Linked DNA regions of Homo sapiens: region 1 is linked to region 2. Evidence: promoter capture Hi-C in human tissues and cell types (Jung and others, 2019). All regions are on one chromosome and are shown on one strand. The core of a region is centred on a gene start or on the middle of the fragment in contact, and the rest is flanking DNA. Distances in the headings are between cores, read along the strand shown.

Evidence for each region. The method cuts DNA at HindIII sites, captures the fragments that hold promoters and counts their contacts. A contact is called where the count stands out against the background at its distance.
Region 1: a contact is called between a fragment that was not itself captured here and the fragment with the promoter of RILPL1 in region 2, in 2 of the 25 tissues and cell types used here (lymphoblastoid cells and spleen).

The regions. Positions count from the first base shown.
Region 1 is chr12:123,773,159-123,779,483 of GRCh38, forward strand. It overlaps DNAH10 (dynein axonemal heavy chain 10), which reads left to right. Exons shown (of 79, transcript NM_001372106.1): 5 at 991-1,106. All of the region lies in intron 4 of LOC105370044 (a long non-coding RNA gene), which reads right to left. Among named protein-coding and RNA genes, the nearest start is that of DNAH10, 14 kb to the left of the region's middle. The HindIII fragment of the contact is 6,321 bases long and covers 1-5,333 here.
Region 2 is chr12:123,531,108-123,536,797 of GRCh38, forward strand. It overlaps RILPL1 (Rab interacting lysosomal protein like 1), which reads right to left and starts at 2,612. Exons shown (of 7, transcript NM_178314.5): 1 at 2,067-2,612. The coding sequence starts at 2,375. It overlaps MIR3908 (microRNA 3908), which reads left to right and starts at 5,302; the gene lies at 5,302-5,427. RefSeq lists an enhancer at 1,613-2,430 and silencers at 2,646-3,335, 3,355-3,540. The HindIII fragment of the contact is 25,082 bases long and covers 1-5,690 here.

The sequences.
Region 1 (6,325 bases), core at 923-3,422, 240 kb after region 2:
TGCATGTCTGCACATATTTGGAGAAGGTGTGAAGACTGAAACTTGTGAAATAATGGCTTCAGTGGGCATATTTCTTGTGTCTCTTTTGTTTCCCAGTTAGATCAAGGGAAGAGTCCAAGTAACCTTTAAAATGTTTACCATGGTGATTGATTTTTGGTCAGGTAGAGCAAATACATATCAAATAAAACCTTGTTTGTTGGAAGGGTAGATATTACCAAGTAGGTCTTTTCAAACAACCCATGACTCAAAATATGCTTTGGCAATGAATTGAGGAAGACTTGCTGGGGAGTGAAGACAGGCAAAGCCCATGCCCAAGCCAGCTTGGATGGTTGTAACAAATTGCCATAGGCTGGGGGGCTTCACCAACAAACATCTATTTCTCACAGCTCTGGAGGCTGGGAAGTCCAAATCAAGGTGCTGGCAGATCTGGCATCTGGTGAGGGCCACTTCCTGGTTCACAGATGGCACCTTCTCCTATCCTCCCATGGTGGAGAGCAGAGAGAGAGAGAGCAAGCTCTCCTGTCTCTTCCTATAGGGACACCAATCCAATCGTGAGACTCCACCCTCATGACCTAATCACCTACCAAAGGCCCCACCTTCTAATACCTTCACCTTGGGGATTTAAGCTTCAACATGTGGATTTTGGGGTCATTCAGTCCATAGCAGCAAAGAATCCAGCCAACATTTCTAGACAACCCAAATAATTTCTGATTTTGTCCAGCGTTAGATACTCCAACCAGATCAGCAAATGTGTGCAGCTCTTGTGCACTGTTCATACTAATCCACGAACCACAGTGCATTGGTATCCATTTCAGCTTCTCATGGGCCCTCAGATTTGTTTAAACACAAATAGGGGATATTCTGAATCTGTAACCAGAACATTCCTTGTAGCAGCTTGGGAAGAAGGAGAAGATTCCTGTTCTCTTGGAAATGTTAACTGTTGGCTGCTCTCTCCCACTGACCTTACATTCTACACCTGTTCTTCTTTAGAGGCAATCTCTGAAGCTACCGACATGAAGGAAGCTATGGAAATTATGCCAGAAACACTGGAGTATGGAATTATAAACGCTAATGTGCTCCATTTTCTGAAGAATATTATATGTCAGGTAAACATGGAGAAAGGAAGAAATTCTAGTATTTCTAAAGTTGAGGTCATGTGGTTTGTTTATTCCACAAATAGGTAGCGGGCAGCTCTTCTGTCTCAGGTGCTGTTATGGGCACTGAGGTGCTGAGACCAGCTCGGTTGGGGAGACCCTAACCCAGCGGCGCTAGAGAAATTAAAGACACACACACAGAAATATAAAGGTGTGAAGTGGGAAATCAGGTGTCTCACAGCCTTCAGAGCTGAGAGCCGCAAACAGAGATTTACCCACATATTTATTAACAGCAAACCAGTCATTAGCATTGTTTCTATAGATATTAAATTAACTAAAAGTATCCCTTATGGGAAACGAAGGGATGGGCCGAATTAAAGAAATAGGTGGGCTAGTTAACTGCAGCAGGAGCATGTCCTTAAGGCATAAATCGCTCATGCTATTGCCTGTGGCTTAAGAATGGCTTTCAGCGGTTTTCCACCCTGGGCGGGCCAGGTGTTCCTTGCCCTCATTCCCGTAAACCCACAACCTTCCAGCTTGGGCGTTGGGGCCATTATGGACATGTTACCATGCTGCAGAGATTTTATTTATGGCCAGTTTTGGGGCCAGTTTGTGGCCAGATTTTGGGGTCTTGCTCCCAACACTGAGGGTCAAGCAGTGGACAGGACAGGCAATGGCCCTGCTCTCCAGGAGCTTATGTAGGGGAAAGACATGGCACACAAGCACATCTATGAGAAAATACCGACAAGTGGCATGAGGAAAATAAACCCTGATATGAGACAGAAATAGGCATGTGCACTGTGTGTGTGCAGAGGGCATGGTGAGGAATGGCCTTGCTGAGGATGTGATGTCTAAGCTTTCTTTTTTATTTTTATTGTTTTTCGAGACAGGGTCTCTCCGCCATCCAGTCTGGAGTGCAGTGGCCCAATCACGGCTCACTGCAGCCTCAACTCTCAAGTGATCCTTCTGCCTCAGCCTCCTGAGTGGCTGGGATTACAGGCATACACCACCATGCCTGGCTCATTTTTGTACTTATTGTAGAGACAGGGTCTCACCATGTTGCCTAGGCTGGTCTCCAACTCCTGGGCTCAAACAATCTGCCCGCCTTGGCCTCCCAAAGTGCTGTGATTACAGGCATGAGCCACCATGCTTGGCCTGAGCTTTATAGACCAAAAAAATGAAAAACTCATCAGCAGGCCTTTTTCATGAATGATAAGTTATTAGGGAAATGCACTAGGGAAGGAAGGAAGAGGTGATATTGAACTGAGACCCAAATGAGGCCAAGGCATCAGACATGATAGGATGTGGAGGAAGAGCATGCTGGGCAGAGAGAACAGCAGGTGCAAAGGCCCTGAGGTAGAAGCAGCCTCAGCTTGGCCCAGTAGCAGGAGGATGGCCACTGTGGCTGGAGGGAGGGCTGGAAATGAAGGCAGGTTTAAGCAGGGGAACAACAGGATCTGGTTTGCATTTTACCTCTGGCTATTGTGGGAAAACATATTGCTGGGGTGGAGGGGAAGGAAAGACCAAATAGAAAGCCATGGAAGAGCCCAGGTGGAGGGCTGTATTAGTCCATTTTCATGCTGCTGTAGGGAACTGCCCATAATTTATAAAGGAAAGAGGCTAAATTGAGTCACAGTTCTGCATGGCTGTGGAGGCCTCAGGAAACTTAAAATCATGGTGGAAGGGGAAGCAAACACATCCTTCTTCATATGACGGCAGGAAGGAGAAGTGCTGAGCAAAGAGGGAAAAGCCGCTTATAAAACCATCAGATCTCATGAGAACTCACTCACTATCATGAGAACAGTGGCATGGGGGTAACCTCCCCCATCATTCAATTACCTCCCACCAGGTCTCTCCCATGACACGTGGGGATTATGGGAACTACAATTAAAGATGAGATTTGGGTGGGGACACGGCCAAACCACATCAAGGGTGATGGTTATTTAGGCTCCAATCAGGGGAGGGAGGGAGAAGCAGACAGTGTGAGGAATGCCTTGAGGATCAGGCCATGGGACTTGCTAATGACCGGGATCTGGAGGCTTTGAAGAGTATCACAAGAATAGAGAGTACCAAGAATGACTCTTGGTCCCAGCACTTTAGGAGGGTGAGGCGGGAGGATCGCTTGAGGCTAGGAGTTTGAGAACAGCCTGGGCGATATAGCAAGGCCCCATCTCTAAAAAAAAATTTAAAAAAGAATGACTCTTAGGATTTGGGCCTGAGAAACTGGGAGGATGGTGAAGTCATTACTGAGATGGAGGATGGGGAGAAACAGATATGGAGGGAAACTCAAGTGTTGTATTTTGCATTCTAGACGGGAAGGTTGCAGAGTATGGTGGTCATGCCACTGCACTACAGCCTGGGTGACAGAGAGATATTCCATCTCTAAAAAAAAAAAAAAGAAAAATAAATTAAGATAACATCAAAACATGATGTATAATGTTAAGCACAGGTGGCCTCTTAGACATTCAAATCAAGACGTGAAGCAGGATGTATGAATCTGGAGCTCTGCGGGGAACTCAGGGCATCCGTCTAGCAAATATTCATTGAGCACCTACTGTATTTCATAGCAATGAACAACTGAGACAAGGTCTCTGCCTCGTGGAGCTTTCATTCTAGACAGGAAGATGTACATTAACCAAGATCAATGAGAAAATATATAGTGTGTTAGACAGCAACAAGAGTTAGGGAGAAAAATGAAGCCAGATAGGAAAGAAAAAGGAAACAAGGGGGAGAGGGAAAGTTGATAGGTGGAAAGGTGGGGCTTTTGCAATTTTAGATAGGGTGGCCAGGAAGACTTCACTGAGAAGATTTGGACAAAAAAGTCCAAACCAACACAATATCCTCTTTTGCTTGGACTATCGCAGGAGCCTCCAAAAAGATCCCTCAGTTTCTGTTCTTACCCTCTACGCTGCCTTCTCCACATGCCAACCAGAGTGATGCTTTAAAACATGGGCATCATCAGCACAGAGATGGTGTAAAACCAAGGGACTGGGTGGAACAACCAAGGGAGGGAGTAGAGATGGAAGAGATGAGGGGAGAGGAAAGTTAGGACGTGGGTGATCCAGAAGCCAAGAGAAGACAATGCTTCACTGAAGAAGGGAGGGGCCCGCCGTGCCACTTGCTGCTGGAAGTCAAGAAGGCACAGGCAAAGAAGAGCTGGAGGGCTTGGCCCTGGGTGACTTCCATGTGAGCAGTTCTGGGGATGGGAGCAGACGAGGTCTCACGGAGTACAAGTCATCCTGTGAGTTAGGCTGTGGGGCCCTCCCCACTGAGCTGCCTGCACACAAGGGACTTTCTACCTGAAGACAACCTCCTTCATCGGGATGATGTCTTTTTCTAGTGTGACTTTGGAGGACTCAAGAACATTGGCTACCTTCTTATTTATTTATTTATTTTTATTTACTTATTTTTGAGACAGCGTCTCATTCTGCCACCTAGGCTGGAGTGCAGTGGCGCGAGCATGGCTCACTGCAGCCTTAACCTCCCAGGCTTAAACGATCCTCCCACCTCAGCCTCCTGAGTAGCTGGGAGGATTACTAAAAATTAGCCAGGTGCACGCCACAATGCCTGGATGATTTTTGTATTTTTTTTTTAAAGACGGTGTCTCAGTATGTTGCCAAGGCTGGTCTCAAACTCCTGGGCTCAAGTGATCTGCCCTCCTCGGCCTCCCAAAATGTTGGGATTGCAGGCATGAGCCACCATATCTGGCCACACTGGCTACCTTCTTATGCAAACTGAACTTTTCATTCTAAAATAACAAAATAACATCAACCCCATCTCTACCAAAAAGAAAAAGAAAAATCTGCTGGGCATGGCTGTGGGTGTCTGTAGTCCCAGCTACTCTGGAGGCTGAAGTGGGAGGATCGCTTGAACCCAGGAGTTTAAGGTTGCAGTGCATGGTGGTCATGCCACTGTACTACAGCCTGGGTGACAGAGAGATACTCCATCTCTAAAAAAAAAAAATGAAAAATAAATAAGATGACATCAAAACATGATGTATAATTAATTCTTAGTGGTTATATGCATTATGACAACCAGTCATGTCTAAAGGACACAGGGCTCAACTTGAAGAGGCTCATGCCAGCCACAGATGGGATATTTTGACCTTCAGTAAGGATAAAATTGCAGTGGGTTGAAGCATAGAAAATATATTCAAATACAGCCAGGCGCAGTGACTCGTGCCTGTAATCCCAGCACTTTGGGAGGCCAAGGTGGATGGATCACCTGAGGTCAGGAGTTCGAGACCAGCCTGATCAATATGGCGAAACCTCCATCTCTACTAAAATTACAAAAATTAGCTGGGCATGGTGGCATGCACCTGTAGTCCCAGCTACTTGGGAGGCTGAGGGAGGAGAATTGCTTGAACCCAGGAGGTGGAGGTTGCAGTGAGCTGAGGTCATGTCACTGCACTCCAGCCTGGGTGACAGAAAGAGACTCCATCTCAAAAAAAAAAGAAAAAAAATATATATGTTCAAATGCATGAGTTAAAAACATTTTTTTAAGAGACACAGTTCTTACTCTATTGCTCAGGCTATAGTGCAGTGGCACAATCACATCTCACTGCAGCCTCAAACTCCCAGGTTCAAGTGATCCTCCCATCTCAGCCTCCGGAGTAGCTGGGTCTATAGGTGCACACCACTAAGACTGTCTCATTTTTTTTTTTTTGAGGCGGAGTCTCACTGTGTCGCCCAGTCTGGAGTGTAGTAGTGCGATCTCAGCTCACTGCAACCTCTGCCTCCCGGGTTCATGCCATTCTCCTGCCTCAGCCTCCCGAGTAGCTGGGACTAGAGAGAGGCACCCGCCACCACACCTGGCTAATTTTTTGTATTTTTAGTAGAGATGGGTTTTCACCATGTTAGCCAGGATGGTCTCGATCTCCTGACCTCGCGATTCACCCGCCTCGGCTTCCCAAAGTGCTGGGATTACAGGTGTGAGCCACCGTGCCCGGCCTAATTTTTTTCTTTTAATTGTAGAGATGGGGTCTCCCTATGTTGCCCCGGCTGTTCTCGAACTCCTGGGCTCAAGAGATTTTCCCGCCTTGGCCTCTCAAAGTGCTGGATTACAGGCATAAGCTACCATGCCCAGCTTTTCAAATCCATGAATTTATAATGATCTTTAAAAGTCCTGATGGGTCATTTCTGGAGGATGATAGGGGACCACTGTACTATTTCAAAAATTGGGCAAATAAAGAGGAGTCAAGCATTTATGTTGCCTTCCCCATATGAAATGTA
Region 2 (5,690 bases), core at 1,362-3,861:
TCTGCAGGAAAAAAAAAAAAAAATCATACAAGTCTCTCTCCATCCCAAGAATGTGAAGTAAACGGGTCTGGGGCTGGGGTGGGAAAAGAATTGCATCCTTGATTTAGAGAGGTCATCCTCAATGTAAGTCAACAAGCCCTGGCCCTGAGCGCACGGTGTTCACTTCCCAGCTGAACACTTTCCAGAGGCAACAAGTGCAGCTGCTGACAATTCCATGTGACTTCAGACCTGGTGGCCTCCGATGGCTTCCAAGGATTTCTCCCAGCTCCCCCGCAACAGAACTAAAGAGCCCCAGTTGGGGGACAGTATAGGTGCCAGGACTTCTGTGTGATCTGGTCAAAGCCCCTTGGTCCCTGTTAATAAGAGGCGCCACACGAGAGAATTTCCAAGGTCCCTTGCCTCCTTGACCCTCTATGAGAGATGGAGGCCTCTAGGGTAGGAGTAGAGGTGCTTGGGGTGGGGACGGTTTCCTAATATGAGCCTGTGAGCACCTCAATGAATGTCTCTCCAGGCCTAAAAAGAATTTTAAGACTTGCAAAGCCCTTGCTATGGGCAGGCTCTGTCCTGAACACTTTATATGTATTTATATTAACTCTTTAAACCTCATCACATTCTAATGGGGGTACTATTACTATCCCATTTTAGAACTGAGGAAACTGAAGCACAGAGATGCTGGGTGATTTGCCCAAGATCACACAGCCTGCAAGTGGTAGGGTTTGAAACCAGGCTGTCTAGCTCCAAAGTCCTAGCTTCTAGGAGTCTTGAAATTAATTACAGGTCAAAGCATTTTCAGGCTCCCAGAGTGACCTCGGAAATGCTGCTCAACTCTTGGGAGCCTGAGTTTCCTTCCTGCCCCTAGGGCATAGGGACCCATGAGGACGAGCACAGTCAAACATGGCAATGGTGCTGTTACCTACCTGTGGGTCTGCCCTCAGGTAAAGGGTTCAGACCCAGCTTTGGCTATTTTACTCCAAAACACAGAGATCCATCAAAGTACACAATAAGGGATGGCCTGCCCCTGAGGTTCAGAGAGGCCATCTGTATTTCCTGAGGCTGAACAGCAAGCTGGAGACTGCTCAGGCACCCTGATCCCTCAAGGAAAGGTGTTTCCTCCCATTCTCAGTCTGAAGGGGCTGCCAAGAGCATCCCTGGCTGAGGTTAGGGCAGGAAACCACATGTCTTTCACTTCCTTTTCTCCAGAAACCTCGTCTGAACTCCAGGCCCAGTGGGGAGGCCCTGATTCAGAGAGACTCCTGATCACAGGGCAGAGGCTTAGCCTTAAAGCCACCCCAAATCATCCCTTTCCCCCAATTCAAACAGGGTGGGGAGGAGACACGGGGGCTGGGACTCTCTCACCACTAATTTGGGACAAATTGCTCCTCCCACTGTGACCCTCGGTTTCTTTATCTGTAAAATGAAGATAGTCTCTATAGAGTCCTGTGAGGATTAAGGATAAAATCAGAGGAGAGAACACGGGCTACCACAGGTTCATAAGCTAGGGGAGTCCCGGGAAGAAAGTTGCAAATATGAACCCGAAGACTAGGGGTCACGAAGCTCAGTGGCTGGAGGTCACATTCCCTTTGCTCTGGGGAGACTGGGGGGGGGGGGGATGAAGAAAGGGTCCTGGGCCTGATGTCACATCTTCTTGGTAACTCGGGAGGCCAAGAGGCTTATTTCATGTCTGGAAGAGAATAATATGTCTAAGCACTTAGCTTATATGGTCCCATTTAATTCTTCTAAGGTGGGTCCTATTATGATTACCATTTGACAGGTGAGGAAATAAAGCACAGAGAGGTTAAGTAACTTACCTAAAGTCACACAGCTATTAAACGGTAAAGGTGGGATTGGAACTCCAGAGAACAGCTCTTAATCTCTCGGGTGGTATCTGCCAGCCACCCCTGGTCGGGCAAAAGAAGGCCAGGGCCTCCCTCCCTCCCCACGTCGGGTCTCCTCTGGTCCGGTCCCTGAACACACACACGTGCGCACCCACAGCTGCCCAATGCGGAAGAGCCCTTGGGTCCCCGCGGTCCCACTGCCCGGACGGACAGACCGAGGCCGCCGCCCACCTTCTGGTGCTTGCGCTCCTTCTCGATGCGGTCCATCCTCTCCAGGCGCAGGCGGTCCAGCTCCAGGCGCAGCTCGTCCAGCTCGGGCGCGACGTGGTGGCGGCTGACCAGCACCTCCAGGATCTCCAGGACGCGCACGACCTTGGGCATGAGGCGCGCGATGGCCTCGCAGCCGTGCTGGTCAATGACCCGCTCGAACTCGTGGCCCACAAGCGACGCGATGTCGTACACGTCCATGACGGTCAGCTCGGCCACGTTCTTCTCCAGCGCCGACTCGGCCGCCAGCGCCGACCCCCGCTCCTCCTCCATGGCCACCCTCCTGGCCTGTCCCCCGCCCCGCAAACTCGTGCAACTCCCAAACTTGCCGCTGTCGAGGGCCGGGCCGGCCGGGCCCAGCCTGGGCCGCGGGCGGGCGCGCTCAGCGGGCGCTGGGGCGAGGGCGCAGCGGGCAGCGGGCGGCGGGCGCGGGCGCGGGCACGGGCGGCGGCGCGGGGTGTGCGGGCCCGGGGTCTGGGCGCCCGGCTCGGCCCGGAGCTGCTCCCGAGTGGGCGGCGGCGGCGGCGGCGGCGGCGGCGGCAGCGGGGAGGGCGCGCGCGTGCGCAGGCCCGCGGCGCCTCCCAAGTTGGGATCCGAGTTGCGCTCAATGGAGCCGGGCCGGGCGCCTCGGGGCGGTGCGGGCCTGAGGGGCGGCAGAGCGCGGGGCCGGAGAGGAAGGGCGGCCCGCGGCTCCTCCGGGAAACTTTGGCGGCGGCGGCTGCGAGGCCGGGTGATCGCTTCCCCACAGGGAGGCCGCGCGCCCCGCCCCAATCCCGGCCTGGCCAGGGGCGCGCCCGCTTTCCGCCGCCCGGGGGCGCCCCGGGGTACCCCCCCAAGCGCCGACTCCGCGGCCTGCACTCCGGGCCCCCCTCTCCAGCCGCCGGACCCGCGGCGCCCCTCACCCGTGCCCCGGCCGCCCCTCCCCCGCCCGGCGCTGACTCCTCCCACCACCCGGCCGCCGGGAGGGGTCCAGGCCGCCCCGGGAGAGGGGGCCGGGGGCGCTGGTCTCGCGGGACGATTCGCTGCTCCGGGTAGCGGCCCCGGCCTTGGAGAGGGATGGAGGGGTCACGAGGAGGTCCCCGGGCTGGGGCTCATCCCAGGAAGAGAACGGGGACCCCCCCCGGCCCGCAGACACTCCGCGCAGACCCGGCCACCAGGCGGACTTGCAGAGGCGCCCGGAGAGGGGCCGACGTGTCGAGGAATGCTGGATCCCCGGAGCCCCAGGGCGCGCCTCCCCGAGCCACATCCATCACTGGCTCCTTGTGACATGAACGCCACTTCACAGTAGAGCGAAGCCCGCTTGGCATTCCAGCACCACGAGTTCTCTTGTCCCAAGGCCCCCTGTCCATTTGGGCTGGCCAAATCCACTTGTCCATCAGACCCCCTCCCACTCCCGGGAGAACGTTTCCTGAACCCAGAACCCCATCCACCCTCCCCGCCCCCCACGCAGGAGTTAAGGACCCCCTTGCAAACTCACAGTCCCCTGCTTGCCCCATCAGGATTGCTCTTAGCATCCTGAGTTTTCACCGTGTGGTTGCAGGTAGGTTTCCACCGTCAGATCTTGGCTCCTTGAGGGAAGAAATCTTAATGCCCTTGTAGCCATAAAGCGCACCCCAACGTGGCACGTATTGATTAAAAATCTAAAAGTTGGCCGGGCGCGGTGGCTCACGCCTGTAATCCCAGCACTTTGGGAGACTGAGGTGGACGAGGTCAGGAGTTCAAGACCAGCCTAGCCAAGGTGGTGAAACCCCGTCTCTACTAAAAATACAAAAATTAGCCGGGCATGGTGGCGCATGCCTGTAATCCCAGCTACTCAGGAGGCTGAGGCAGAGAGTTGCTTAAACCCGGGAGGCGGAGGTTGCAGCAAGCCGAAATCGCGCCACTGCACTGCAGGCTGGGTGACAGAGCAAGACTCCATCTCAAAATAATAATATAATACAATAAATAAATAAATAAATAGTAAAAAAAAAAAAATTAAGGCCAGGCGGGGTGGCTCACGCCTGTAATCCCAGCACTTTGGGAGGCCGAGGTGGGAAAATTTCTAGAGCTCAGGAGTTCGAGACCAGCCTGGCCAACATGGTGAAACCACGCCTCTACTAAAAATACAAAAATTAGCCAGACATGGTGGCATGTGCCTGTAATCCCAGCTACTCAAGAGGCTGAGGCGCGAGAATCATTTGAGCCTGGGAGGCAGAGGTTGCAGTGAGCCAAGATCGTGCCACTGCACTCCAGCTTGGGCAACAAGAGCGAAACTCCGTCTCAAAAAAAAAAAAGAAAAAAAAAAAAGTAAAATAAAAAAATTAGCCAGACGTGGTGGTGAGAGCCTGTAGTCCCAGGTATTTGGGAGGCTGAGGTGGGAAGATCCCTTGAGCCTGGGAGGCAGAGGTTGCAGTGAGTTGAGATCACACCACTATGCTCCAAACTGGGCGACAGAGCGAAACTCTGTCTCAGAAAAATAAAAAATAAAAATAAATACTCCTGGCCACAGTGGCTCATGCTTGTAATCCTAGCACTTTGGGAGGCCAGGGCTGGAGGATCACTTGAGCCCAAGATTTCGAGACCAGCCTGGGCAGCATGGCAAAACCCCGTCTCTATTTAAAAAAAAGTCTGGTTGCAGTGACTTATGCCTGTAATCCCAGCACTTTGGGAGGCCAAGGGGGGCAGATCAGTTGAGGTCAGGAGTTCAAGATCAGCCTGGCCAACATGGTGAAACCTCATCTCTACTAAAAATACAAAAAAAAAAAAAAATTAGCCAGGCGTGGTGGCAGGCGCCTGTAATCCCAGCTACTCAGGAGGCTGAGGCAGGAGGATCACTTGAACCCGGGAGGCAGAGGTTGCAGTGAGCTGAGATCGAGATCGTGCCACTGCACTCCAGCCTGGGTGACAAAGCGAGACTCTGTCTCAAAATAAATAAATAAATAAATTAATTAATTAATTAAATAAAAATTACCCGACTCTGGTGGCAAGTGCCTGTAGTCCCAGCTACTCGGGAGACTGAGGTGGAAGGATGACTTGAGTCCCAGGGAGCAGAGGTTGCAGTGAGCTGTGATTACACCACTGCACTCCAACCTGGGTGACATAGGGAGACCCTGTCTCAAAAACAACAAAAAAACTCATACGTTATCTAGCACGGTGGCGTGAGCCTGTAGTTCCAGCTACTCCAGTGGGAGGATCCCTTGAGTTCAAGAGTTCTAGTCTAGCCTGAGCAATGTAGGTAGACTGTTTCTAAAAAAATAAAAAGTTAAAAAAATTTATGTTAACGTGTAATGTGTTTACTAATTTTTTTTTTTTTTTTTGGAGACAGAGTCTCCCTCTGTCGCCAGGCTAGAGTGCAGTGGCTCGATCTCAGCTCGCTGCAGCTTCGACCTCCCAGGTTCAAGCAATTTCCCTGCCTCAGCCCCCAAGTAGCTAGGATTACAGGCGCATGCCACCATGCCTGGCCGATTTTTTTGTATTTTTAGTAGAGAGGGGGTTTCACCATGTTAGCCAGACTGATCTCGAACTCCTGACCTCAGGCAATCTGCCTGCCTCAGCCTCCCAAAGTGCTGGGATTACAGGCATAAGCCATCCTCCCGGACTATTTTTTAA